5 separate regions of the Homo sapiens genome follow, and regions 1, 3, 4 and 5 are each linked to region 2. Evidence: promoter capture Hi-C in human tissues and cell types (Jung and others, 2019). All regions are on one chromosome and are shown on one strand. The core of a region is centred on a gene start or on the middle of the fragment in contact, and the rest is flanking DNA. Distances in the headings are between cores, read along the strand shown. Region 1 holds the start of TNPO2 (transportin 2). Region 2 holds the start of ZNF700 (zinc finger protein 700). Region 3 holds the start of ZNF443 (zinc finger protein 443). Region 4 overlaps HOOK2 (hook microtubule tethering protein 2). Region 5 holds the start of ZNF791 (zinc finger protein 791).

Evidence for each region. Contacts are between HindIII fragments. The study calls those that stand out against the background at their distance.
Region 1: a contact is called between the fragment with the promoter of TNPO2 here and the fragment with the promoter of ZNF700 in region 2, in 1 of the 25 tissues and cell types used here (spleen).
Region 3: the fragment with the promoter of ZNF443 here is called in contact with the fragment with the promoter of ZNF700 in region 2 in 1 of the 25 tissues and cell types used here (dorsolateral prefrontal cortex).
Region 4: a fragment that was not itself captured here is called in contact with the fragment with the promoter of ZNF700 in region 2 in 1 of the 25 tissues and cell types used here (heart left ventricle).
Region 5: the fragment with the promoter of ZNF791 here is called in contact with the fragment with the promoter of ZNF700 in region 2 in 3 of the 25 tissues and cell types used here (IMR-90 fibroblasts, lymphoblastoid cells and mesenchymal stem cells).

What each region holds. Positions count from the first base shown.
Region 1 is chr19:12,722,437-12,727,788 of GRCh38, reverse strand. TNPO2 (transportin 2) reads left to right here and starts at 3,857. Exons shown (of 26, transcript NM_001382241.1): 1 at 3,857-4,020; 2 at 4,424-4,540. RefSeq lists enhancers at 3,470-4,086, 4,087-4,705, 4,758-4,907, 4,706-5,323, 5,324-5,352. The HindIII fragment of the contact is 34,827 bases long and covers 1-5,352 here.
Region 2 is chr19:11,922,507-11,927,963 of GRCh38, reverse strand. It overlaps ZNF700 (zinc finger protein 700), which reads right to left and starts at 2,857. Exons shown (of 4, transcript NM_144566.3): 1 at 2,691-2,857. The coding sequence starts at 2,753. It also overlaps a transcript of ZNF69 not described here. RefSeq lists a silencer at 2,395-2,594 and enhancers at 2,985-3,094, 3,145-3,194, 2,642-3,214, 3,371-4,160, 4,161-4,951. The HindIII fragment of the contact is 4,963 bases long and covers 856-5,457 here.
Region 3 is chr19:12,438,882-12,444,109 of GRCh38, reverse strand. ZNF443 (zinc finger protein 443) reads left to right here and starts at 3,089. Exons shown (of 4, transcript NM_005815.5): 1 at 3,089-3,198. The coding sequence starts at 3,196. RefSeq lists an enhancer at 2,641-2,910 and a silencer at 3,321-3,410. The HindIII fragment of the contact is 16,773 bases long and covers 1-5,228 here.
Region 4 is chr19:12,760,432-12,765,634 of GRCh38, reverse strand. It overlaps HOOK2 (hook microtubule tethering protein 2), which reads left to right. Exons shown (of 23, transcript NM_013312.3): 19 at 554-636; 20 at 718-821; 21 at 1,857-1,967; 22 at 2,036-2,107; 23 at 2,204-2,632. The coding sequence ends at 2,353. Among named protein-coding and RNA genes, the nearest start is that of BEST2, 11 kb to the right of the region's middle. RefSeq lists an enhancer at 1-106. The HindIII fragment of the contact is 3,945 bases long and covers 1-3,228 here.
Region 5 is chr19:12,606,968-12,612,287 of GRCh38, reverse strand. ZNF791 (zinc finger protein 791) reads right to left here and starts at 1,368. Exons shown (of 4, transcript NM_153358.3): 1 at 1,206-1,368. The coding sequence starts at 1,208. ZNF490 (zinc finger protein 490) reads left to right here and starts at 1,475. Exons shown (of 5, transcript NM_020714.3): 1 at 1,475-1,724; 2 at 3,086-3,130. The coding sequence starts at 1,608. It also overlaps the pseudogene VN2R16P. RefSeq lists enhancers at 1,197-1,256, 1,587-1,806 and a silencer at 1,397-1,456. The HindIII fragment of the contact is 50,335 bases long and covers 1-5,320 here.

The DNA.
Region 1 (5,352 bases), core at 2,608-5,107, 800 kb before region 2:
CAGCCTGGCCAATGTGGTGCAACCCTGTCTCTACTAAAAATACAAAAAATTAGCCGGGCGTGGTGGCGCGCACCTGTAATACCAGCTATTCGGGAGGCTGAGGCAGGAGAATGTCCTGAATCTGAGAAGGCAAAGGTTGCAGTGAGCCAAGATTGTGCCACTATACTTCAGCCCGGGCAACAAAGTGAGATTCCGTCTCAAAAAAAAAAAAAACAAACAGCCTAGCTGTCGTGGTGGCTCACGCCTATAATCTCAGCACTTTGGGAGGCCAAGGCGGGCAGATCACAAGGTCAGGAGTTCAAGACCAGCCTGACCAACATGGTGAAACCCTATCTACTAAAAATACAAAAATTAGCTGGGGGTGGTGGCCCACGCCTGTAATCCCAGCTACTTGGGAGGCTGAGGCAGGAGAATCGCTTGAACTGGGGAGGCAGAGGTTGCAGTGACTACACTCCAGCCTGGGCAACAGAGTGAGACTCCATCTCAAAAAATTAAAAAAAAAAAAAAGAATAGGATACCTTTCCTCTTTCGCTTCCTGCTAACACACAATAAGGTTTTTCTGCTTTACTTTGCATGTGGGCTGAAAGGTCTCTCCCTCCTACTTTGGGGATGCTAAGCTAGCCCAGGTGTGACTTTGGCCTTGGGGGTGGAGTATGGGGGGAGGGAACACAGGAAGCTAATGGAGCCATCCCTACCTCCTCCTCCCCCAAAGCCACCAGCAGAGACTGGATCTTTAAAAAGCAACAGAAGCCTGGGAAGTAGGTCGCCCTGCAGCATCTCAGCCTCTATTCTAGTGTCAAGAGGCAGGAGAGGCTGAAAGTCCAGGCACATCCCTTTACAGTACTTACCTGCTCTGACCTGAGAAAAGTCTGAAGAGGGAGGAGAATCATATCCAGGTTTTGGTGAGTCACACAGCCCTGGCTTCTGACTATTCTAGTGCCTGTTGACTGTGTGATCTTGGGTAAGTCACTTAGCTTTTCTGTACTTCAGGTTCTTCATCTATCAAATAGGGGTAAAATAAAGAAGCATCTCTAGAGTCAAGTTCTAAAGTAAGGGCAATATTCATAGAATCTAACCCTGCCATTGTTTAAAACAGCTAGTGCTTTCCAGGGTGAAGAAGTTGGCTTGCGTTTGGGGACTGTGTTAAGTTAGTTGAAGTGCTGACCTTTGAACTCGGGGGACAGTGTGATGAGAGGCTTGGGAAGGGAGGCTGCTGTAAATTGAGAACACGTTTGTCTCACATTTCAGATTCGCGGTTGGACACCAATTCTTTTTTTTTTTTTTTTGAGACAGAGTCTCGCTCTGTCGCCTAGGCTGGAGTGCAGTGGCGCGATCTTGGCTCACTGCAAGCTGCGCCTCCTGGGTTCACGCCATTCTCCTGCCTCAGCCTTCCGAGTAGCTGGGACTACAGGCGGTCGCCACCACGCCTGGCTATTTTTTTTTGTATTTTTAGTAGAGACAGGGTTTCACCGTGTTAGCCAGGATGGTCTTGATCTCCTGACCTTGTGATCTGCCCGCCTCGGCCTCCCAAAATGCTGGGATTACAGGCATGAACGTGAGCCACCGCGCCCGGCTGGTTGGACACCAATTCTGTGAGTTTCTTTTGGCACAGAGAGCTTCTAATTGAACTAGGGTAAGTTTGCCAGGCATAGGGCTGTTGTGAGATTTGCATGAGATAACATTTGGCCTTTTTTTTTTTTTTTTTTTTTTTTGAGACAGAGTCTCGCTCTGTCGCCCAGGCTGGAGTGAAGTGGTGTGATCTTGGCTCACTGCAACCTCCGCCTCCCGTGTTCAAGCGATTCTCCTGCCTCAGCCTCCTGAGTAGCTGGGATTATAAGCGCAGGCCACCACTCCTGGCTAATTTTTTTGTATTTTTAGTAGAGACAGGGTTTCACTGTGTTAGCCAGAAGATGGTCTCAATCTCCTGACCTCGTGATCTGCCCTCGGCCTCCCAAAGTGCTGAGATTACAGGCATGAGCCACCACATCCGGTATTAATGAGATAACATTTGGAAACCACTTGACATGCAGTAGGTGCTTAAGAAATAGGAAAAAAGGCCAGGCATGGTGGCTCATGCCTGTAATACCAGCACTTGGGGAGGCCAAGGCAGGTGGATCACCTGAGGTCGGGAATTCGAGACCAGCCTGACCAACATGGAGAAACCCGGTCTCTACTAAAAATACAAAATTAGCAGGGCGTGGTAGCACATGCCTGTAATCCCAGCTACTCGCGAGGCTGAGGCAGGAGAATCACTTGAACCCGGGAGGCAGAGGTTGTGGTGAGCCGAAATTGCACCATTGCACTCCAGCCTGGGCAACAAGAGCAAAACTCCACCTCAAAATAAAAAAAAAAAAAAAAAAGGAAAAAAGGCCAGGCACGGTGGCTCACACCTGTAATCCCAGCACTTTTTGGGAGGCCAAGGCGGGCAGATCACAAGGTCAGGAGTTCAAGATCAGCCTCGCCAATATGGTGAAACCCTGTTTCTACTAAAAATACAAAAATTAGCTGGGTGTGGTGGCGGGTGCCTGTAGTCCCAGGTACTCGGGAGGCTGAGGCAGAATAGCTTGAATCCCGGAGGCGGAGGTTGCAATGAGCTGAGATCCCACCATTGCACTCCAGCCTGGGCGACAGGGCAAGACAGTGTCTCAAAAAAAAAAAAAAAAAAAAAAAAAAAAAAAAAAAAAGAAAGAAAGAAAGAAATAGGAAAACTGGGCCGGGCACAGTAATCCCAGCACTTTGGGAGGTCGAGGCAGGTGGATCACCTGAGGTCAGGAGTTCAAGACCAGCCTGGCCAACATGGCAAAACCCCATCTCTATTAAAAATGCAAAAAATTAGCCTGGCGTGGTGGCAGGCGCCTGTAATTCCAGCTACTCGGAAGGCTGAGGCAGGAGAATCGCTTGAATCCGGGGGCGGAGGTTGCAGTGAGCCGAGATTGAGCCATTGCACTTCAGCCGGGACAATGAGAGCAAGACACCATCTCAAAAAACAAAAAAACAAAAAAAGCCAGGCGCGGTGGCTCACGCCTGTAATCCCAACACTTTGGGAGGCCAAGGCAGGCAGATCATGAGGTCAAGAAATCAAGACCATCCTGGTCAACATTGTGAAACCCCATCTCTATTAAAAAAAATTAGCCGGGCGTGGTGGCGCATGCCTGTAATCCCAGCTACTCGGGAGGCTGAGGCAGGAGAATCGCTTGAACCCGGGAGGCGGAGGTTACAATGAGCTGAGATCGCGCCACTGCACTTCAGCCTTGTAACAGAGCGAGACTCCGTCTCAAAAACAAAACAAAACAAAACAAAGAAATAGAAAAACAAAAACAACAAAACAACAAAAACCCAAAACCTTGTCCTGATTCAACACTCAAATTCACCAGCTGGAGAGGAAGAAAAAATTCCGTGACCACACAAGGGCCAACAATGTGGACCACACATGCAGCAGGGGCTACTTTGTTCTGCCCCAAGGCTTGCGGAGGGCCGCTGAAAATTTGCCATATTATATGAAGGGGGTGAACCTTAACAAATTGTCTCCTGCATCCCAAACTCGCTCCCCATCTGATCTTTATCTGGGGCAGCCCCCAAATTTGACCAGAAAGCTCTTATCGTTCACACTCGCTCCAGGAACCCCCAAATCCAGCCCCAGCTCCCCAGTCTCACTCTTCTGCTCCCCATGCACCTCGGTTGGTCTAGAGACCCTCCTGCCAATTTGAGTCTCAGCCAAAACCCCAAAGCGCGGCGACCCTGGCGCATGGCAGGACGGGATTTGTAGTTCCAGGGCTTATCGGAGGGTGGGGGAGAGGGAGGCCTTTACGCATGCCTTGGTGGCGGCTTTCTGCACGTGTTTCTCAGCCCAGGTTTCAGTCCAGCGGAACTGGCTACCTCGGAATCCCAACTGCTCCTTTAGGGTGTCTTCCGCGATTCTCCGAGTGGAGTTAGGCGCCTGCCGACACTTCCCTAACCTTGGAGGCCCGGGACTTGATTTTCATGAATGAACGGAGCCGGGACTGACTTTGCCTACGGCAAGTGGGTTGAGATAGCTGTTCCCCTCCTTCAGGCAGGGGCAAAAATTGACCTCTGCCTCTCTCGAGGGTCAAAAAGTTCCTCAGGGCAGGGTGGGTTGTTCTTTGGGATTAGAGCTGGTGAATTCATTAAATATCGGCTTAGGGAGGGGCTGAATACAGTAAAAGAACAGCCTTGAGCCTTGGAGGGTAAAGCCACGTTTTTAAGGAACAATTCAGAGCTGGCCAGGTCATGCTTAACTTGGATGATCTCTAATCGCGCGAACTGCTCTTATACCCATTTGACAAGTGGGGAAACTGAGGCTTCAAGTGGCAGGAGGTCTCCCACTTTGTTATCGGCAGGGCAGGGAGGGGAAACCAAGACGCTACAGGGTCTCCAGCTTTTTACCATCTGCTCCTCTCTCAAGAGAAGGAAAAACGGTGCCCTACTGTCTTCAGACGTCGCAAGGATCAAGAAGATTTCTTTCTTCATGACCCTGCCCTTGCCAGAATTTCCTGCGCTGTTCCACCTCATTCAACTTCAGGTAGGGAAAGGGATTAGGCGTGGTTCAAAGTTTATTTTATTAGTTCATTTCGTTTTATTCAAAAATTTATATCCTTGTGGCTTTTTCATCTCCTTGTAAAAACTATCAAACAGTACTGGAAAATAATGCAAAAAGTGGCAGAGGCTTCTGTAGGAACCCGGCTTGTCTCAGGCACTTACTTTGTCCTGCTTTCTTTCCTTTGTCTCTGGGGTATAAAGAGCACGCTCAGCTCTTTCCTTGCGCACACACAGCGTACTCCTCCCAAGTACCTCTGGATGGGGGAAGGGAGGCACATTTCAATTTTTAGTGGAGGAAGGTGACAAGGAGGGTGCTGGCTCTGGCCGAGGGGTTCCTGGATCCATCACACACAAAGTCCCCACGCGCTACCAAACTCCTGGCTCCAGCTAAAGAGCTTGCGGTCAGGTCAGTGAAAGATGCTGGGAAAACGAGACACTGGGAGGACCGGCTGGCTAGAGAGGCCAAAGAAACGGCAACTCTTTGGTCACGTGACCGGACCTTGTCTCAGCCCGGGTTTCCCAAGTGCCAGGGCACGTGTGAAGGTTGAACCTTCCGATTGGCTCGGCGGGACCAGTTTGAACGGAGTACGGGAGCCGCGGCGGCTCACCTACGGCCGCGTTTTTCTTTTTTTTTTTTCTTTCTTTCTTTTTTTTTTTTTTTTTTTTTTTTAATTCTCTCTCTTTGGCTCCCTCCTTCCGCGCGAGTCTCTGGAGAAGCCGCAGCGCGAGTTGCCGCCGCTGCTGCCCGGGGCCGGGTAAGTGGGCCTCACTCAGAGCCCGACCCTCTTGGCCCCG
Region 2 (5,457 bases), core at 1,608-4,107:
AATCCTGTTACATTTATTTGCCTTTTGCCTATACAAGTGTTAGGGAAGCAGGTGCCTAGGGGAGCCAGAGTAACACCAATTTAAGTTCAGCTCCATCTTGACACTAACAAGAAACACTCCTTGTCAGTCACAACCCATGATCACAAAATGTTTCCCATGAAGAAAACAGCCTGAAGATGCCTGCAAGTATCCTTACACTCCCACAACAATAGAATGTCCTGATGTCCCAATACCTATAACAATATGTGCTTTCAAGATAATTATAGTTATGTTTTAATGCACTTGGGTGCTAAAATGTAAAGGATAGTTTTCTTTAAATCAACAGAGTAATAAATTTTGTGATGCTGTCAGCCCACATGCACATAGGCACAGGTAGTTTATTCTTTACATAGAAAAGATCCCTACATAAGAAAAACTTAAAGACAGTACGTTCCTCCACTTGCTGTATGAGGATGCCCTACTCTGAAACAGAGAAGCTTTTTCTTTCTTTTTCCTTTTCTATTTATTTATTTATTTATTTATTTATTTATTTATTTATTTAAATAGAGACAGGGTCTCGCTGTGTTGGCCAGGTTGGTCTTGACCTCTTTCCTGTTTGTTTTGGTTTTTGAGATGGGGTCTCACTCTGTTACCCACACTGGAGTGCAGTGGTACATCCTCGGCTGGGCTGCAACCTCTGCCTCTGGGGTTCAAGTGATTCTCTCACATCAGCCTCCTGAACACCTGGGACTACAGGTGCAGGCCACCACACCCGGCTAATTTTTGCTAGTTTTGGAAGAGATGGGGTTTCACTATGTTGCCCAGGCTGGTCTCGAACTCCTGACCTCAAGTTATCCTCCCACCTTGGCCTCCCAAAGTGCTTGGATTACAGGCCTAAGCCATCATGCTGGCCCAGAGTAGCTTTCAATAAACTCTCTTCTCACTGCACTTTGTGACTCGTCTTGAATTCCTTCCTGTGTGAGATTCAAGAACTCTCCTGGGGTCTGATCAGGACCTCTTTTCCTGGTAATACAAGCAAGAACTTAACTTCCAGTTTTGGAGTACTGAGTCTATTTCCCTAGAGTCTGTGTTTTTCCCAAATGGGCCACTGCTATCCTTCCGCTTGAATAAACTCTTCCAACTGAAATCTTGACCTTTCTATTATTTCGGAGTGACAAGTCCAAATAAGGCAACTGCATCTCTGCAACCAATCAAGCATTTATCTGGTTTGTCTCCTCACGTAACTTATAAAAGCTTACCCCTAAACTGGTAAACTAAAAATAAAAACATACCTCTGGCCCGGCGAGATGGCTCACATCTGTAATCCCAGCACTTTGGGAGGCTGAGGTGGGTGGATCACTTGAGGTCAGGAGTTCGAGACCAGCCTGGCCAACATGGTGAAACCCCATCTCTACTAAAAATACAAAAATTAGGAGGGCATAGTGGTGCATGCCTGCAATCCCAGCTACTCAGGAGGCTGAGGCAGGAGAATCACTTGAACCCGGAAGGTGGAGGTTGCAGTGAGCCGAGATCAGGCCATTGCACTCCAGTCTGGGCGACAGGAGACTCCGTCTCAAATAAAAACAAAGTACCTTTCCAGCTAAGTGAAGTGACCGGCTCTTGGCCAACAGGACCCGCAAAAAACCCTGAAAATTGAGTGCCTCTGTATGACAGGATGGGAGGTGAGACAGGTCTCCTTATACCCTCTCCCACACATTCATGTAAAAATAGATAGAATGGAAAAACAGACTGCTTGTGGCAAGAAGATACTAACTTACAAACAAAACCTAAGGCCACGCAAGGCAAAAGTAAAGTCACGCCTCAGAATTCATAAAATCTAGAGAAACAGGTCTGTTTTCTGGCTGGGATGGAATCAAGTGGCAGATAACAGACCCCCTTCCTTCCTACCTCCTCCAAACTTTAGACAAACTTCACACTCTCAACCAGCTGCCACCTACAGAATCCCTCAACCACCTGTGCCTTCTAACCCCCCTTCCACAGGTCCCACCCTTTCTGCCAATGGAACTTACACCTTTCAGGCACTGATTCATCATTTTCCCTGCAATTCCTGTCTCTCTGAAATGAATAAAACCAAACTGTCTTGAGCCGCCTCGGGACCACTTACTCCAGGCTGCTTGGGGTTGTGTTTCCCTCGGCCAAGGTCTCTCCTATTCGGCTCTGAATAAACTTCTTTATTTTACATAGTTTGGCTTTTTCCGTTGACAAACCACAACCCAGGACGGGGTGTTTCTCATTCGTGAATCGCTGTTTGCTCAAATGAACTCTTTAATTGTTAACGTACCTCAGTTTAATTTTTAACAGGAGAAAGTGGGGACTGGGGGCCCCACAGACCACTGCTCCTCCCACGCACGAACCCCACACCCGAGTCAGGATGCCTCCATGACCCTCCCGTTGCTTCCGCACAATCTGGGGAGACGCGGGGCTGCGGGAGCGGAACTGCCCAGAGAGGGCTCCGGGGCAGGGGCCGCGGCCGCAGTCGCCGCGCAGGGACGGGACAGGACGCCCGGGTCCTGGCTGCTGGCCCAGCCCCGTCCAGCGGCCAAGGGGACCGAGGGCCGAACTGCTCAAGGAGGACTCGGTCCCAGACCCCGGAGTCGCCCACAGGGAGGCCCGGGTCCCGCCACAGCCGGTTCCCGCCTGTTCCAGGCAGCCCCTCCCCCGTCTCACGACATCTGGTCCCGCACACGCACCATTTCCCGGCTTTCAGATGTACCGGGGTCCTCTCTACAGCTCCTGTGACTACAGCAGGGCATAGCGCAGGCGACAGAGCGACAGAAGCCTGGGTACAGGCACCAGGTCCCTCTCGGGCTGGTCTGACCGGTTACCAACCGCCGCCCGCGCAGCGAGGAAGGTGAGGAAAGCGACCCCCTCCATTTCCGGATGAACTGTGGGCAGTGCCACGCCCCAGCACCTCTGATTGGATGAAATACTAGGTCCCGCCCCCCACATCTGAGTGACAGCTGAAGCCCTGGGTATCAGGCCCCGCAGAGCCAGACTGACGGATTCTAGCCACAGCTTCTCTAAGGGCGAGCTGCTTTCTGCACTCTGGTTATTGGATATTTGCATTTCAGCCAAACTTGCTATTGATAGAAGAGAACACTAGCGTCATCCTCACTCAAGGGACAGTCCCCGCTCCTTCGTTCTGCACGGGGTCACAGGAGTGTGCAGGGAATTTCAGACTCAGTGTCCATAGGAGCCAACTGCTGGCCTCAGAGCAGCAGGGGAACCGAGACCAGGCCAGGCACGACTGCACCAGGAGGAGAGGCATATGTCCTCGAGCGGGCCGGAATTGGGGATGAGGCGTGGCCAAGCCTTGCTCACACACCCCCATCCCCTTGTGAAAATGCTTCCTCCTTTCAGATCTTCATTTTCACCAGCAGGAAACTCTCACCAGGTTTTGTTTCTGACCTAAGTAAACTGTCAACTTCATGAACCCTTTATCCAGGTGACGCCACCAAACAATTCTGTCTCTAGCTCTAGCCTGATCTTCACACATTTTCTTTTCTTTCTTTCTTTTTTTTTTTTTTTTTTTGAGACGGAGTCTTGCTCTGTAGCCCAGGCTGGAGTGCAGTGGTGCGATCTCGACTCACTGCAAGCTCCGCCTCCCGAGTTCACGCCATTCTCTTACCTCGGCCTCCGGAGTAGCTGGGATTAAAGGCGCCCGCCACCACGCCCGGCTAATATTTTGTATTTTCAGTGGAGACGGGGTTTCACCGTGTTAGCCAGGATGGTCTCGATCTTCTGACCTCTTGATCCGCCCGCCTCGGCCCCGCAAAGTGCTGGGATTACAGGCGTGAGCCACCGCGCCCGGCCACACATTTTCTTTATCTATACAAATAACTCTGACCCCAACGACCCCATGCATGTCAAACCCCAAACCCTGCCCAGAAGACAGCTCCAGAGGTACAACACCAGAAAGGACAGAGACGCCACAAATGCGTCTGCACATGGGTCTTCTGCTTTCCAGGGCTCTGCAGCTTCTCGGAATCCACACCCTTTCTGGAGCTGCTCTGAGCAGCTGGAGGCCACTTGTAGAAGGGGGTGGGCTGCCCGCGAAGCCCCCAGGGAAACTCTCTTTCCCTCCCTTTGCAGGCTGCAGAGACTGTCCTCAACGTGGAATCACTGGCCTTGGGCTCTGCTGCCCCCTGCAGGTTATTCAGCTACTTCTCACCCCATCGATTAGTTTCGCGAGACAAACACCTTCAATCCCATTGTGTAAATAAGACACCAGCAGAGTCCCTGCTCTCCTCCTATGCTTATGTATAAAGTGGGGGAGGAAAAATCTAAGATAACTTAAGGGCATTTGAAAGACTTCCAGATCGCGGTGGAGGTGGCAGCTGAGGGACTCGCAGTCAATGACACTGCAGCACCTCCAGGCCAGGCTGGTGGGAGAGAGGGTGGAGAGCTGGAGATGGATGTGGATAGGTGGAGGGAGCTGCCCTGGGAACTGGGCTCTGCAGCAGTGCGGCTCTAGGGCCCGGAGCCCGGGAGAGCAGAGATGGGGGCTCCCAGGACAGGAAACTCAGGGAGGAGAGAGTCGGGTGGCTTCCATGGGACGGGGTGCTGTTGCAGCTTGTGTGAGCCAGTAGCTATCATAACTAAGCCCAATCGGGACGTGAAAACTTGGATTCCGTGGGAATTTATGAAGAGGAAGGCTCTGATGACAAAGAAGTCATCGATGAGGAGGGGGATGAGGGTCACTGGCAAGCTTGCTTCCTTATGGAAAGAAAAGTGAACACCCAACTACTGCTGCAAAATGGGATCAAAGGATGAGACTCTCGCTGTCAGGGAATAAACTGCTGCAGAACTCTTAGAGATTGCAAAGACCTTTCAACAACAGCCTGGGAGGCCAGGTGCCATGGCTCATGCCTGCAATCCCAACATTTTGGGAGGCCAAAGTGGCAGGATCACTTGAAGCCCGAAGTTGAAGACCACCCTGAGCAGTGAAGTGAGACACTCCCATCTCCATAAATCTATTTTTTAATTAGCCAGGAGAGGTGGTGTGTACCTGTAATCACAGCTACTCAGGAGGCTGAGGCAGGAGGATCACTTGAGCCCCAAAGTTTGAGGCTGCTGTGAGCTGTGATCAGGTTACTGAACTTCAGCAAGACACTGTCTCAAAAAAAAAAAAAATCAAAAACAAAAAAACCCATAAAAAGCCCACCAGACTCCCCGGGGAAACCCTGACCCCCTTGGATGGTCTAATTGTAAAACACAGCAGGTGGTATTTCCTTATGGACTGGATCATTCTGGCCACATAAGAGGCTTGGCCTACTGAGGATTTACCAGGCGGATGACCTCCTTGCAGTCAATGGAAAAGGCCCCTGGTGAAACCATCCCTTTAAACTTTATCAAATTCATCAGGGAGGATGGGAGGAGAAAACTTAAACCAAGCTGCAGAACCTTCAGCATTAATCATTAAGTCAGCTTGTTCCCTGAACTTCCTCATATTTGCTT
Region 3 (5,228 bases), core at 1,840-4,339, 520 kb before region 2:
AAAATTGGACAAAAGAAAGATTAAATGGGATTTAATCTACACTATAGATCAAATGGACCTAATAGATATTTACAGCACATTTTATCCAACAGCTACAGAATACACATACTTTTCCTGAGCACAGGAATCATTCTCAAGGATAGACCATATGTTAGGTCAAAAAACATGTCTTAAAACGCTCCGAAAAATTGAAATAATATAAATTGTGTCACAGAATAAGTGGAATAAACTAGAAACCAATGACAAGAGGAATTCTGGAAACCATACAAACATATGGAAATTAAACAATACGCTCCTGAATGACGAGTGGGTCAATGAAGAAATTAAGAAGAAAATTGAAAAGTTTCTTCAAACAAATGATAATGAAAATGCAACATACCAAAACCTATGGAATACAGCAAAAGCAGTACTAAGAGGGAAGTTTATAGATATAAGCACCTACATCAAAAAAGAAGAAGACCTTCAGGCTGGGTGCAGTGGCTCCCATCTGTAATCCCAGCACTTTAGGAGGCCAAAGGGAGTGGATCACCTGAGGTTAGGAGTTCGAGACCAGCCTGGCCAACATGGTGAAACCCTGTATCTACTAAAAATACAAAAAATGACATGGTGGTCGGTGCCTGTAATCCCAGCTACTTGGGAGGCTGAGGCAGGAGAACTGCTTGAACCCAGAAGGCAGAGGTGGCAGTGAGCTGAGATTGCGCCATTGCACTCCAGCCTAGGCTGCAAGAGTGAAGTGAAACTCATCTCAAAAAAAAAAAAAGAAGAAGAAGAAAACCTTCAAATAAACAACCTAAGAATGCATCTTAAAGAATTAGAAAAGCAAGAGCAAACCAAACCCAAAATCAGTAGAAGAAAAGAAATAATAAAAATCAGTAGAAATAAATGAATTTGAAATGAAGAAACAATAGAAAAGAACAATGAAACAAAAAGTTGGTTTTTTGAAAAGACAAACAAAATTGACAAACCTTGAGGTAGACTAAGAAAAAACCAGGCCCAAATAAATACAATTAGAGGTGAAAAAGGAGACATTACAGTTGATACTGCAGAAATTCAAAGGATCATTAATGCAACTAAGAACAACTATATGCCAATAAACTGGAAAACCTAGAAGAAACTGATAAATTCCTAGGCAGATAGAACATAGCAACATTGAACCATGAAGAAATAAAAAACCTGAACAGACCAATAACAAATAATGAGATCAAAGCCATAATAAAAAGTCTCCTAGCAAAGAAAACCCCAGAACCCAGTGGCTCCACTGCTGAATTCTACCAACATTTAAAAAAGAACTAATACCAATCTTACTCAAACTATTCCAAAAAACAGAGGAGAAGGCAATACTTCCAAATTTATTTTACAAAGCCAATATTACTTTGACACCAAAACCAGACAAAGACATGTCAGAAAAAGAAAACTATAGGCCAGTGTCACTGATGAATATTGATGCAAAAATCCTCAACTCAATACTAGCAAACTGAATTTAACAATACACCAAAAAGATCATTCATCATGACCAAGTGGGCTTTATCCCTGGGATGCAAGGATGGTTCAATATATGCAAATCAATCAATGTGATGTATCATTTCAACAGAATAAAGGGCAAACACCATATAATCATTTCAATGTGCACTGAAAAAGCTTTTGATAATATTTAACATCCCTTCATGATAAAAACCCTAAAAAAAAGTGGGTAAAGAAGGAGCATACCTTAACATAATAAAAGCTATATATGGCAGACCCACAGCTAGCATGATAATGAATGGGGAAAAACTGAAAGCCCTTCCTGTAAGATCTGGAACACAATAAGAATGCCCACTTTTACCACTGTTGTTCAACACAGTACTTGAAGTCCCAGCTAGAGCAATAAGACAAAAAAAAAAAAAAGAAAAAAAAAGAAATAAAGGGCATCCATATTGGGAAGGAAGAAGTCAAATTATCCTTGTTTGCATATAATATGATCTTATATCTGGAAATACCTAAAGACTCCACCAAAAAAGTATTAGAACTGAGAAATAAATTCAGTAAAGTTGCAGTATACAATATCAACACACAAAAATCAATAACATTTTTATATGCCAACAGTGAACAATCTGAAGCTACTTGAGAGGCTGAGGTGGGAGGATTGCTTGAGCTTAGGAGGTAGAGGTTGCAGTGAGCCATGATGGCCCCACTGCACTCCAGCCTAGGTAACAGAGCAAGACCCCATCTCAAACAACCAAAAATGTGTAGAAGGATGGTTACCAGAGGCTGCGAAAAGTAGTAGCGAGGAGTAGTTATGGGGGAAGTGGGGATGGTTAATAGGTATAAAAAATAGTTACAAAGAATGAATAAGACCTAGTATTTGCTAGCACAACAGAGTGACTATAGTAAAAAATAATTTAATTGTACATTGAAAAATCTTGAAAAATTTCATTGAAAAAGAGCATAATTGGAGCCAGGCGCAGTTGCTCACGCCTCTAATCCCAGAACTTTGGGAGGCCAAGGTAGGCGGATCACGAGGTCACGAGTTTGAGACCAGCCTGGCCAACATGGTGAAACCCAGCCTCTACTGAAAAATACAAAAATTAGCCGGGTGGTGGCGCGTGCCTGTAATCCTAGCTACTCGGGAGGCTGAGGCAGGAGAATTGCTTGAACCCACCCAGGAGGCGAAGGTTGCAGTGAGCCTCGCACCATTGCACTCTAGCCTGGGCGACAGAGCAAGACTCCCTCTCGAGGAAAAAAAAAAAAAAAGATATAATTAGTTTGTCAGTCCGTGTCCAGGAGGAAGAAGCAGGAGGTCCTATTGAGTACGGGCAGGAAATTCCGCTTAAGTGCAAATATAACCCGGGAGGATTCAGATCAAAGAGCAGGGAGGAAGCCCCCCCTGCCAAGGGCTGTGTCAGGAACTTGCTCATCCGGCTCCACTCAGCTGTGCAAGATCGCTTCTTCTGTCAATCAGCCCTCAGGGGGCGGGACCTGACGCCCTATCCAATCAGGGGCGTGGGGCGGGTTCGTGGGAACTGTCAATCAGGCACTGCCCAGAGAAGTGTGTGTGGTTGAAAAAGCCCGCGGCGTCTGCTCCACCCACCTGCGCTCGGCTCTGGGTTCTGTAGCTGAGAGACGACCTGGAAGTTCTGAGGCAGCCTTTGTCTGGCTGGAACACGCATTGGCAGCGGGAGCTGTCGGTAGGACCTGGGACACCGCGGAAGTCGGGAAATGGTGCGTGTGCTGGGCCGGCGTCCCGAGGCGGGGGAGGGGTTAGGTGGAACCGGCCGTAATCGGCTGTGGCTGGACCCGGGCCTCCCCAAGGGCGACTTCGGGATCTACGGACCCGGGTCCCCCTGGCGTAGGTCGGCCCTCGGCCGCAGGGTGGGGCTGGGCATGCAGCCGGGACCCCGGGCGTCCTGTCCCGTTCCTGCGCGGCGACTGCGGCCCCGGCGCCCTCTCTGGGCAGCTCCGAGCCCGCAGCCCCGGGTCTCCCCAGATTGTGCGGCTGTAACCAACACAGGTTCGCGGCCCGACTCACTGCACCGAGACGCCGAGGGCTGCAGCAGAAACGGTTTAACAGGAGGAGAGGGGAGGACACCCCAGATCCGCCTCCCTGAGGGATTTGGGGTCTGGACGGGGGCGGCTGGGTGTAGCGTCCTTGGTTGGTGGGGAAGTGAGGGGTGAATCCTGGGACAGGAGGTGAAGAAACCGCATTCTGCTGAGAGGGCTCCCTCGTGGGGTCTTCAACCTGGTTGGCGCCAGCCTTTCTGCTGGGATTCAGGATCTGAGAACTCCGGCGACTCTTGAGCAGCACTCGGAGATCTTATCCCCAGGCACAATGGGGAAGCCGGCGGTCAGCGTCTGCTGTGACCTGACTCTCAGGGAGGCGGCCCCTTGAGGCAGCGGGGCTGAGGGCACCTGTTTAATATCTAACTGCAATCTCGCCTCCAGCCTGGCTCGCAGTTCCTGTGAACCCGGTGAGGAGGCTGCACGGTGACGACGAGTCACCAGGTGGAATCCAGACTCGTGTGTGGGGTTTGTGTGTGGGAGGAGCTGTGGTTTCCGTGGTCCTCAGTCCTTTCTTCCTTTCCAAGGGCGACCGTTTCCCCTCTGAGTCTTCCAAAGACGTGGGCAGCAGGGTCTCAAATCCACCACTGTGTTCTCTCATCCTGACTCTTCCTAGGGCTGGCAGCAAATCTCTTGGTTTCCAGAGACTTCCCCAGGCTAACCTTCTGTCCTTAATTCACAGCAACAGTATGAACTGTTTGGCCCCAGGCGATATTTCACTAGTTTGTCATCTTGTTTTCAGCTAGCAATGTATGGCTTTTTCTTGAAAGAATTGTTTTGGGTTCCTGAACACGGTGGGTCATTCCTGTAATTCCAGCACCTTGGGAGGCTAAGGCAGAGGTATTGCTTGATCCCAGTAGTTCCAGACCAGCCTGGGCAACATGGCAAGACTTTGTCTCTAGTGTAAATGATAATAATAAAATTAGCTGGGCTTGGTAGCTGGCACCTGTAGTCGCAGCTACTCCTGAGGCTGAGGTGGGATGATGGCTGGAGCCCAGGAGTTTGAAGTTGCAGTGAGCTATGATCGTGCCTCTGCATCCCAGCCTAGGCAACAGAGGCCGACCCTGTCTCAAAAAAAATGGATGTCCACAGCTGCCAAGTCTCTTGGAGGGTCTAGTGAATATCATCCCCTGGGTCACTCCTCCCAGGGGACAGCCTGAGATGGAAGGTGTGGCCCCCTGGGGAGCAACTGGATCCACTGGGATGGGAGGAATCTTCTGGTATATAATTCCTGTAAAAAGCTAACTCCTGGGACACTCACCTTTTCTTCCCAACCCTAGTTTCCATTCCTTGGAGACACATGACTGAACAGCCAATTTCATGGTCATATTCCATAGGAAAAAAAACGGAAATGATTTTTGCCTTCTGGACTCTCTCAGACTTAAAAGGTAGAAAGTTATATCTAAGGACTGGAGAACCTGCCCTTTGAGGTAGTGCAAGATCCTGAAAAGCACACAAGGCAGTGTCTCCTAGGAGGGTGGTGAGTGTCTCCTAGGAGGGTGGCGAACAGAATAGGGTTAAGGGATGTCCCAGGTGATAGGATGACCTGCACTGATTGTTGCATTAGACTTTTCTGTGTTCCAGTCAGCACTGCTGATTCCTGAGTTTGTTAGCTTGAAAAGATATGTTTACTCTTTTCAGCCTAAATTTTTGATTAACCGTGAAATACATCCTATGATTAGAGATTGTTATTT
Region 4 (5,203 bases), core at 7-2,506, 840 kb before region 2:
GAGTTTCTTAGGCATGTGCCACCATGCCTGGCTGATTTTTTATATTTTTAGTAGAGACGGGGTTTCACTATGTTGGCCAGGCTGGTCTCGGACTCCTGACCCCAGATGATCCACCCGCTTTGGCCTCCCAAAGTGCTGGGATTACAGGCATGAGCCACCGCGCCTGGCCTGCTTTCTTTTCTTTTACCTGTCTGCTATTGAAGAGATTTGTATTCTAGAAAGATCCCTGGCTGCTGGATGGAGTGCTTGAGAGTAGAAGAAGCTAGCAAGGGAAGATGGTGGCTGAACCAGCTTGGGAGCTGTGGGATGGGAAGAAGTGGACAGCAGGGGCTGTTCCGGGGCATACCTGCTAAGGGTGCGGAGGGTTGTGGCTCTGACAGCTGTGGAGCCGGTGGGACCAGGGCACACAGCCCCAGGCATGAGGGGCAGGCAGAGAGGGCTCTGTGGCCATGTAGGGGCATTTCTGGCTGGCGGGGAGGTCTGTGGCTACCACTGGGACAAAAGAGAAGCCAGCCCGGAGGTCAGCCCACTGCTGCTCATCCCCGGCCCACAGGCAGAAGCTTCATGAGGCAGATCTGGAGTTGCAGAGGAAGCGGGAGTACATTGAGGAGCTGGAGCCACCCACTGACAGCAGCAGTAAGTAGGACCTAGTGACCAGAGGGTGGGGAGATCCCAGAGCCCAGCAGCGTGGAGCTGATGGGCCACCTCTTCCGCCAGCAGCCCGGCGGATCGAGGAGCTGCAGCATAACTTGCAGAAGAAGGACGCGGACTTGCGGGCCATGGAGGAGCGATACCGCCGCTACGTGGACAAGGCCCGCATGGTGAGGACGCTGGGTGTTCCCACAAGTTGCCTGCCCTGGCTTCTTACTTTTTGTGCCTCCTATTGAGTCAAACCTCCTGCTTGCACATCTGTGCCCCCAACTCATACCTGTCATACCCCACCATAAGACAGACTTCTGCATGATTCCCCACTGCTACTGATTGTCACATTAAAATACTGCACAGCTGGCTGGGTGCCGTGGCTCATGGCTGTAATCCCAGCACTTTGGGAGGTCAAGGCAGGCGGAACATGAGGTCAGGAGTTTGAGACCAGCCTGGCCAACATGGTGAAACCCCATCTCTACTAAAAATACAAAAATTAGCTGGGCATGGTGGTGGGTGCCTGTAATCCCAGCTACTCAGGAGGCTGAGGCAGGAAAATCATTTGAACCCGGGAGGCGGAGGTTGCAGTTAGCTGAGATTGTGCCACTGCGCTCCAGCCTAGGCGACAGGGCAAGAGTCCATCTCAAAAAAAAAAAAAAAAAAAAAAAAAATTACGCACAGCCAGGCGCAGTGGCTCACGCCGCTAATCCCAGCACTTTGGGAGGCTGAAGCAGCTGATCCCTTGAGGTCAGGAGTTCGAGAGCAGCCTGGCCAACATGGCGAAACCCCGTCTCTACGAAAAATAGAAAAATTAGGCGGGATTGGTAACATGCGCCTGTAATCCCAGCTACTCGGGAGGCTGAGGCAGGAGAATCACTTGAACCCGGGAGGCAAAAGTTGCAGTGAGCTGAGAGTGCGCCACTTCACTCCAGGCTGGGCAACAGAGCCAGACTCCATCACAAAAATAAAAATAAAAATAAAGTAAAAATAAAGTACTGGCTGGATGGGCACAATGGCTCATGCTTGTAACCTCAACACTTTGGGAGGCTAAGGCAGGAGAATTGCTTGATGCCAGGAGTTCAAGACCATCCTGGGCAACATAGGGGGACTCTGTCTCTATAATGAATGAAAGAATGAATGAATACACACACCCCAGTATGTCCCAGGGGGTTTCAAGGCCAAAGTCACCTGGCTATGACTTCCTCAACCTGTAGGTCATGCAGACCATGGAACCCAAGCAGCGGCCAGCTGCGGGGGCACCTCCAGAACTCCATTCCCTGAGGACACAGCTCCGAGAACGGGATGTCCGCATCCGACACCTGGAGGTGGGTGTCCTCGTCCCTTTACGCTGCCTCCAACGTATCTAGGCCCCTGACACTTGCCTCCTTGACAGATGGACTTTGAGAAAAGCCGAAGTCAGCGGGAGCAGGAAGAAAAGCTGCTCATCAGTGCCTGGTATAATATGGTAAGTGTGGGGTCTGGGCTCTAAGATCTCATGGGTAGAATATTGGTGGGGGGGTCCTGTGAGCTCACCTGACCCCAACCACACCTCCTCCTGAAGGGCATGGCCTTGCAGCAGCGAGCTGGGGAGGAGCGGGCGCCTGCCCATGCCCAGTCATTCCTGGCACAGCAGCGGCTGGCAACCAATTCTCGCCGTGGACCCTTGGGACGCCTGGCATCTCTGAACCTTCGCCCCACTGACAAGCACTGACAGACCTCACAATCAAGCCAGCCTGGGCTCCACCCACCCTGGCTTCCTCCAGCTCACATGGCGCCCAGCACTGGGCTTCAGCCAGGTGCTCGAGAGCTTTGAGGCCATGATCTCTGCTCTTCCCTCTCCCAGATTGGTGGGGAGGGAGGGCGGGAGGTAGATATAGGCCTGTTCTTTTTAGCAATGTGATTCTTGTTGTTGATTCTCTCTCTGGAGTTCATGTGCTGCCTCAGGAGACTCTGATTTTATATTTGAGAAAAATAAAGGCGTTCAATCTGCCCTGGCTGTGCTCTGGGCACCAAGGTGAGGGAGAGAAAGTGGGCCAGAGGCTTAGCCCATTGCTTTTAAGAAAAGCTTAGCGGCCAGGTACGGTGGCTCACGCCTGTAACCCCAGCACTTTGGGAGGCTGAGGCGGGTGGATCACCTGAGGTCAGGAGTTTGAGACCAGCCTGGCCAACATGGCAAAACCCCTCCTCTACTAAAAATACAAAAATTAGCAGGGCATGGTGGTACATGCCTGTAATCCCAGCTACTCGGGAGGCTGAGGTGGGAGAATCGCTTGAACCTGGGAAACAGAGGTTGTAGTGAGCTGAGATCATGCCATTGCACTCCAGCCTGGACAACAGAGCAAGACTCCATCTCAAAAAGAAAAAGAAAGAAAAGCTTGGCTTGCATTCTTACTAAAATGTGAGTGACCAATAGCACCAACCAGAGGTAGGTGAGGATCACGTTTGTGTGTCTGTGAATGTGTGGTGGTTTTGTTTTTTGGTTGTTGTTGCTTTTTTTTTTTTTTTTTTTTGAGATGGAGTCTCACTCTGTCGCCCAGGCTGGAGTGCAGTGGCACGATCTTGGCTCACTGCAGCCTCTGCCTCCTGGGTTCAAGGGATTTTCCTGCTTCAGCCTCCTGAGTAGCTGGGACCACCTGCGCATGCCACCACGACTGGCTAATTTTTGCATTGTTAGTAGAGACGGGGTTTCACCATGTTGGCCAGGGTGTTCTTGAACTCCTGACCTCAGATGATCCGCCCACCTCAGCCTCCTAAAGTGCTGGGGTTACAGGAGTGAGCCACCACGCCTGGCCACTAAGCTTTTCTTAAAAGCAGTGGGCTAAACCCTGGCCCACTTTATCTCCCTCACCTTGGTGCCCAGAGTTACCAGAGTGAGCCACCACTGTGGAACAATCATAGCTTGCTGCAGCCTGGGCAACAAGAGTGAGACCCCATCGAAAAAAAAAAAGAATAAAAAGGCCCAGAAAGGAGGCCTCACCAAGGAAGTGACATTATTGAAGCAGATACCTGAAGGAGGTGAGGGAGAGGCCATGTAAGTACCTGGGGAAGATCCAGGCAGAACAGTTTGCACAAAGGCCCTGAGATGACACCTCGCTTGGTGTGCTGGAGGGACAGTAAGGGGACCAGAGTGGCTGGAGTGGAGTGAATAAGAAAGCAGAAGGCCGGGCGTGGTGGCTCACGCTCATGCCTGTAATCCCAGCACTTTAGGAGGCTGAGGCTGGCGGATCACAAGGTCAGGAGATTGAGACCATCCTGGCTAACATGGTGAAACCCTGTCTCTACTAAAAATACAAAAAAATTAGCCGGGCGTGGTGGCAGGTGCCTGTAGTCCCAGCTACTCGGGAGGCTGAGGCAGGAGAATGAACCCGGGAGGCGGAGGTTGCAGCGAGCCGAGATTGTGTCACTGCACTCCAGCCTGGGCGATAGAGCAAGACTCCATCTCAAAAAATAAAAGGAAAGCAGAAGGCCGGGTGCAGTGGCTCACGCCTGTAATCACAGCAGTTTGGGAGGCAGAGGCAGGCAGATCACGAGGTCAGGAGATCGAGACCATCCTGGCTAACACGGTGAAACCCGTCACTACTAAAAATACAAAAAAATGCGGCCGGGCACAGTGGCTCACGCCTGTAATCACAGCACTTTGGGAGGCTGAGACGGGCGGATCACGTGAGGTCAGAAGTTTGAGACCAGCCTGACCAACATGGAGAAACGCCGTCTCTACTAAAAAAAAAATACAAAATTAGCCGGATGTGGTGGCATACGCCTGTAATCCCAGTCACTCTGGAGGCTGAGGCACAAGAATCGCATGAATCTGGGAGGCGGAGGTTGTGGTGAGCTGAGATCATGCCATTGCACTCCAGCCTGGGCAACAAGAGCAAAACTCCGTCTCAAAAAAATAATAATAATAAATAAAAATAAAAATACAAAAAAATTAGCCAGGCGTGGTGGCGGGTGCCTGTGGTCCCAGCTACTCGGGAGGCTGAGGCAGGAGAATGGCGTGAACCCGGGAGGCGGAGCTTGCTTGCAGTGAGCCGAGATGGCTCCACTGGCACTCCAGCCTGGGCGATACAGCGAGACTCTGTCTCAAAAAAAAAGAAAAAGAAAAAGAAAGCAGATGAGGGTGGGGAGATTATTCAGGGACTTGTGGGCTGCAGAGAATACTTTAACTTTTATTCTAAGTGCTGTGGGAGCCACGGAAGAGTCTAAGCAAAGGAGGGATGTGACCTGGCTCGGGTGTTCATAGGCGCCCTCTGGTGGCCACTCTGGGAGAAACAGGCTTAGGAGGCCAGGGCCAGAGCTTGAAGACCTGGTTGGTAGTCCAGGTGGGTGGGTGGGTGATAGTGAGGGCTCTGGCCAGGCTGGGGTCCTGGAGGAGTGAGAAATGGTTGGATTCTAGATACGATTTAAAGGCAAAGCTGGCAGGGCACGGTGGCTCACGCCTGTGATCCCAGCACTTTGGCTGGCCAACATGGTGAAACCCTGTCTCTACTAAAAATACAAAAATTAGCTGGGTGTAGTGGGCGCCTGTAATCCAAGCTACCTGGGAGGCTGAGGCAGGAGAATC
Region 5 (5,320 bases), core at 119-2,618, 690 kb before region 2:
GGTGGAGGATCGCTTGAGCCCAGGAGTTCAAGATCAGCCTGAGCAACACAGCCAGACCCCATCTGTTAAAAAAAAAAAAAAGAAAATAATAATGTCAGTTAATTATTTCCATGGCAATAAATAGTTTACAAAAGTATTACTTCTATCTGAATGCTTCTAGATGTTGCAAGTTTAAGTCCTGGAATACCATCTGAAACATCAAACTAAAAGAACAGACCTGAGAAACATATTCCATGTGCTCAGGGAAAGAACAAAGAATTTTTAACAAATGTAATATTGGGATGTTTTTTGTTTTCTGAGATTCATTTCTTTTTTGCCCTTTGGAAATATTTTGTACTGTCTCTCAAGTTCTTCTGATAACATATATTTTATATTTATTGGAAAAATGACATTCGAGTGAATAAATCTTTTCAAGGTCATAAACCCAAGGCGGGACAGTGCCAATCTGAAACTGTGCTGAAAAGATAGATTACCCAGGAAAGTTTACAAAAAGGAACCTCAACGCAAAGGAGTTCCCATAGGATGTCTGTGCCCTGGAAAGGTACCAGGATGAGGGCCACAGCATTTTATGCAGATTAGTTCCAAGTGAATAATTTTTCTGATTTTTCTCTGATGTAAAATATCCACAAACAAGAAATAAATCGTTTAAAAGAGGCATCTATTGGAAAAAAGATTATTAAAATACTGCGTGTGTTTGAAATGCACCACACAGGACAAAGAGTTGGTGACGATGTTTTCCACTGGCGAGCGGAAGTAGGCGTTTGGGAATTCGGGGAGGGATCCGGAAATCTAGGGATTAATGGCCCGCCGTGGGAGGAGCTAGGCTGGGGGGACAGGGTAGTGGATTTGAGACTCTGCTTCCAACATCTTTGGAAGACTCAGGGGGAAACAGCCTTTGGGAAGAAAGAAGGGACTGGGAACCCCAGACTGTAGCTCCTCCCACACAAACCAAACACACAAGGCGGGATTCTCCCCAGGACCCTCCCGTGGTCCCTGCACGATCTGGGAAAGACGCGGGGCTGCGGGCGCGGAGTTGTCCAGAGAGGGCTCCGGGGCTGGGACCGCAGTCGCCGCGCAGGGACGGGACAGGACGCTTGGAGTTCCAGCTGCCAGCCCAGCCCCACACTGCGGCCGGAGGTGACCGTGGGGAGGCCCGGGTCCCGCGATCACGGCCGGTTCCAACTAGTCCGGCCCTGCACACTCACCATTTTCCGGCCTCGCGGGTGTCCCGGTGTTGTCCCTAAGGTTCACGGAGCCAGCGCAGGGTACAGCGCATCCGATGCAGGGGTACAGCAACCTGACGCGTCAAGGGGCCAGGAGACCCCAAGCTAAGCACAACCCGATCGCACAGTGACGTAGCACGCATTTGCGCAGCGTAGCCGTACCCTCCTTTCCGGCGCCGCCCCTGATTGGACAATTATACAGCCCCGCCCCTTTTTGTCCGAATGACAGCTAGGCAGCAGGTCTAGTAGCTAGGCAGATCTCGCTTCCGCCGGTGGGACGGAACTGGTGCCCTCCGTGGACAATTGTGTTGAAGCAGAAATTGTTCCGGATCTCGGGTCGGACACGGAAGTCTTCCTGCAGTGTTTCTGGATGCGGGGACAGGGATGCGCAGGAATTCCAGTCTCAGTTTCCAGATGGAGCGACCCCTCGAGGAGCAAGTCCAGAGCAAGTGGTCGTCTAGTCAAGGCCGCACAGGAACAGGAGGGTCTGATGTCCTCCAGGTACCAGGGGCTTGGCATAATGTTGTAAGGCCTCTCGTGGAATAGTGACCCTTGTTTATAAACAGACGGTTACCCCATCATGTGTAATAAAAAGTGTGGTTGCATTTTAATCTTTGACCATAACAGCGTTGAGGCGTCCACCTTTCTTTTCCCCACCTCCACACATTTGGCACTTTAGAAAAGGAACCCCAAGGCAGGGCTTGGTGGCGCACACCCGTAGTCCCAGCTACTGCGTGGTGGGGGCGGTGGGGGAGGTCGGGGGGTGGGTGGGCTGAGGCGGGTGGATCGCTTGACTCCAGGAGTTTGAGTTCAGTCTGGGCAACATGGCCAGAACCCATCCCAAGAAAAAAAAAAAAAGGAAAGAAAGAAAAAACAATCCGTAGGACACCCGAGCACTTGGCTCGGGTGGTAAATTGCAACCCTAACCTGGGCACAGGGACTCTTCAGACCAATCACGATCTATGAGACGTGCTCAGTAAACTGCGTTTTACTCTGGAAGGAAATGGTTTGTTTTCGTTGTTTTTTTGTTTGTTTGTTTTTAGTTTAAGCATGTTTTTATTGCTTTTCATTTTTATTTTTATTTTTGTAGATTTATGGTTACAAATGCACTTGTGTTACGTGGATATATTTCATAGTGGCGAAGTCTGGCTTTTAGTGCACCCATCACCCAAAGAGTGTATATTGTACCCAATAGGTAATATTTCATCCCTCATCCCCCCTCTCTGTCCAACCTATTGGCATCTCCAGTGTCTATTATTCCATTCTGTATGTCCATGTTTACCCATTGTTTAGCTCCCACTTATATGTAAGAAGATGCAGTTTTTGACTTTCTGTTTTTGCATCATCGCACTTAGGATAATGGCCTCCAGTTCCATCCGTGTTGCTGTAAAGTGGAAGGAAATTTATCTCAAATAAGTTTTCTAAAGTGTCCCTACAGAACTTGGAAAGACCAAGAGCCCAAAACCAGCCTGGGCAACATAGCGAGACCCCATTTCTCAAAAAATTTTTAAAAATTAGCTGGGTATGGTGTTCACCTGTAGTCCTAGCTCCTTCGGAGGCTGAGGCAGAAGGATCTCAAGGCTAAGAGTTTGAGGTTACAGTGAGCCAAGATTGTGCCACTGCATTCCAGCCTGGGAGAGAGAGAGACTGTCTCTAAATTTTTTTTTTAAAGTAGAAACATATTTCATTTTTCCCATTATAGAGGAGACAGTGTAATCTTGAAAACTCCCATGATCCACCCTTCTGGTAGCTCTGTGTGTACAGGTAGATGCAGGGGGAACAATGCTTCCAAGGCTGTCAAAGGTCATGTTTAGTTCTAAATTGCTGAAACTCACAAAATGCATCCTCTTGTTTCTAATTAGATGCAGAACAGTGAACACCATGGACAAAGCATCAAGACTCAAACTGTAAGTGAGATCGCTACCTGTCAGCGTGGCTACCTTCCTTGTTTATAATGACCATTTGGGTCTGTCCTTCTATGACCTCTTTGTGGGGGGGTCTTTCGGGTCTTTGTGAAGGCACTCCCATAGTCAAGGCCAATAACCAGGCTCTCAGGTATGTCCTGTTCATTGCCCTCACCCTGTACTTCCATTGTCCCTTACCTTCATTGGCCATCCCAACACAGCCACCTGCATCCTTTGGAATATCACATTTGGGCTGGGTGCAGTGGCTCATGCCTGTAATCCTGGCACTTTGGGAGACTGAGGTAGGAGGATTGCTTGAGTTCAGGAGTTTGAGACCAGTGTGGGCAATGTAGTGAGACTCTGTCTCTACAAAAAATAAAAAAAATGGCTGGGTGTAGTAGCTCATGCCTGTAATCTCAGCACTTTGGGAGGCAAGGTGGGTGGATCACTTGAGGCCAGGAGTTGGTTTCCAACCTGGCCAACATGCTGAAACCTCATCTCTATTAAAAATATTTTTTAAGTTAGCTGGGCATGGTGGGAGGCACACCTGTAATCTCAGCTACTTGGGTGGCTGAGGCATGAGAATCACTTGAATCTGGGAGGAGGAGGTTGCAGTGAGCTGAGATCGCGCCACTGTACTCCAGCCTGGGCAACAGAGTGAAACTCTGTCTCAAAAATAAATAAATAAATAAATAAATAAATACATAAATAAATAAAGATAAAAAATTAGCTGGGCATGGTGGCATAGTCCCAGGTCCTCGGGAGGCTGAGACGGGAGGATGGCTTCAACCTGAGGCTGCGGTGACCTGTGATGGTGCCACTGCACTCTAGCCTGGGCAACAGAGCGAGACCCTGTCTCAAAAAAACACAAAAACCACAAATTTGGAGTCATGTTTACTTGTTTGCATAGTTTGGACAAAACGATCACTGCAGTTCTGACCTTCAAGGTAAACATGCAAGAGACGGATAAGGCACGGGTTAGTGTCGGGGGTACCTAATTTTGTCATTGCTATCAGTTCCCTGATCTAAGTGACTCTGTAATCCCAACACTTTGGGATGCTGAAGTGGGAGGAATTTCATGGGGAATGACTACAGCCTTCATGCATGTGGATACATAATCTGAGCCTGAATATGTCATCTTCACATAAAACCACGATTTGGTTATTGACTGTTCTGTGAATCCTGGGTTCCTTGGCTCATGGGAGCTTCAATGTGGCTTTTCTGGCCAGGAACTTGCCTGACATTTTCAATAAGCCAATCCTTAAGTTCAGCATGCTGGTATTTTTCAGTGTCTGGGTCACCGTCCTTCCTGTCTACCAAAACCCGAAATGGGGAAGCTATCAATCCTGGCCTCCACTGATTTGCTGCTGCTTCTCTGTCTGCAGATGCTATGCTGTTCTTGTTTGTTCCTTTTTTTTTTTTTTGAGACAGGGATCTTGCTGTGTTGCCCAGGCTGGTCTCAAGCTCCTGGCTTCAAGCAATTCTCCTGCCTCAACCTCCCAAAGTGCAGGGATTACAGGTGTGAGTCACTATGCCTGGCCTGAGTTTTCAGTTTTTGACAGTGCTCAGTATATGTGGTGGCACACATTTGGACTTTAATACTGAGAAGTTCCATTATTATTACTGTTATTATATTGTATTACTATTACTATTATGTTCTGTCACCCAGGCTGGAGTGCAGTGGCAAGATCACAGCTCACTGTAGACTCAACTTCACAGGCTCCCTAGTAGCTGGGACTAGTAGCTGGAACTAGGACTAGGTGTGCGCCACCACGCTTGGCTAATTTTAAAAAAATTCTTTTTTTAGCCAGGTGTGGTTGTGCACATCTGTAATCCCAGCTATTTGGGAGGCTGAGGCAGGAGAATTGCTTGAACCCAGAAGGTGGAGGTTGCAGTGAGCCGAGATCATGCCACTGCACTCTAGCCTGGGTGACAGAGTGAGACTCCACCTCAAAAAAAAAAAAAAATTTAAATTTTTTAAATTTTAGAGACAGGGTCCTGCTATGTTGCCCAGGCTGATCTTGAACTCCTGGACTCAAGTGATCCTCCCACATCAGCCTCCCAGTGTTGGGATGGTAGGCGTGAGCTACCACACCTGGCCAATTTCATTATTACTTATGAGCCATATGAGTTTAGACAAGACTTTGTGCTCTCCATACTTAACTTTTTTCATTTGCAAGATGGGAGGTATGA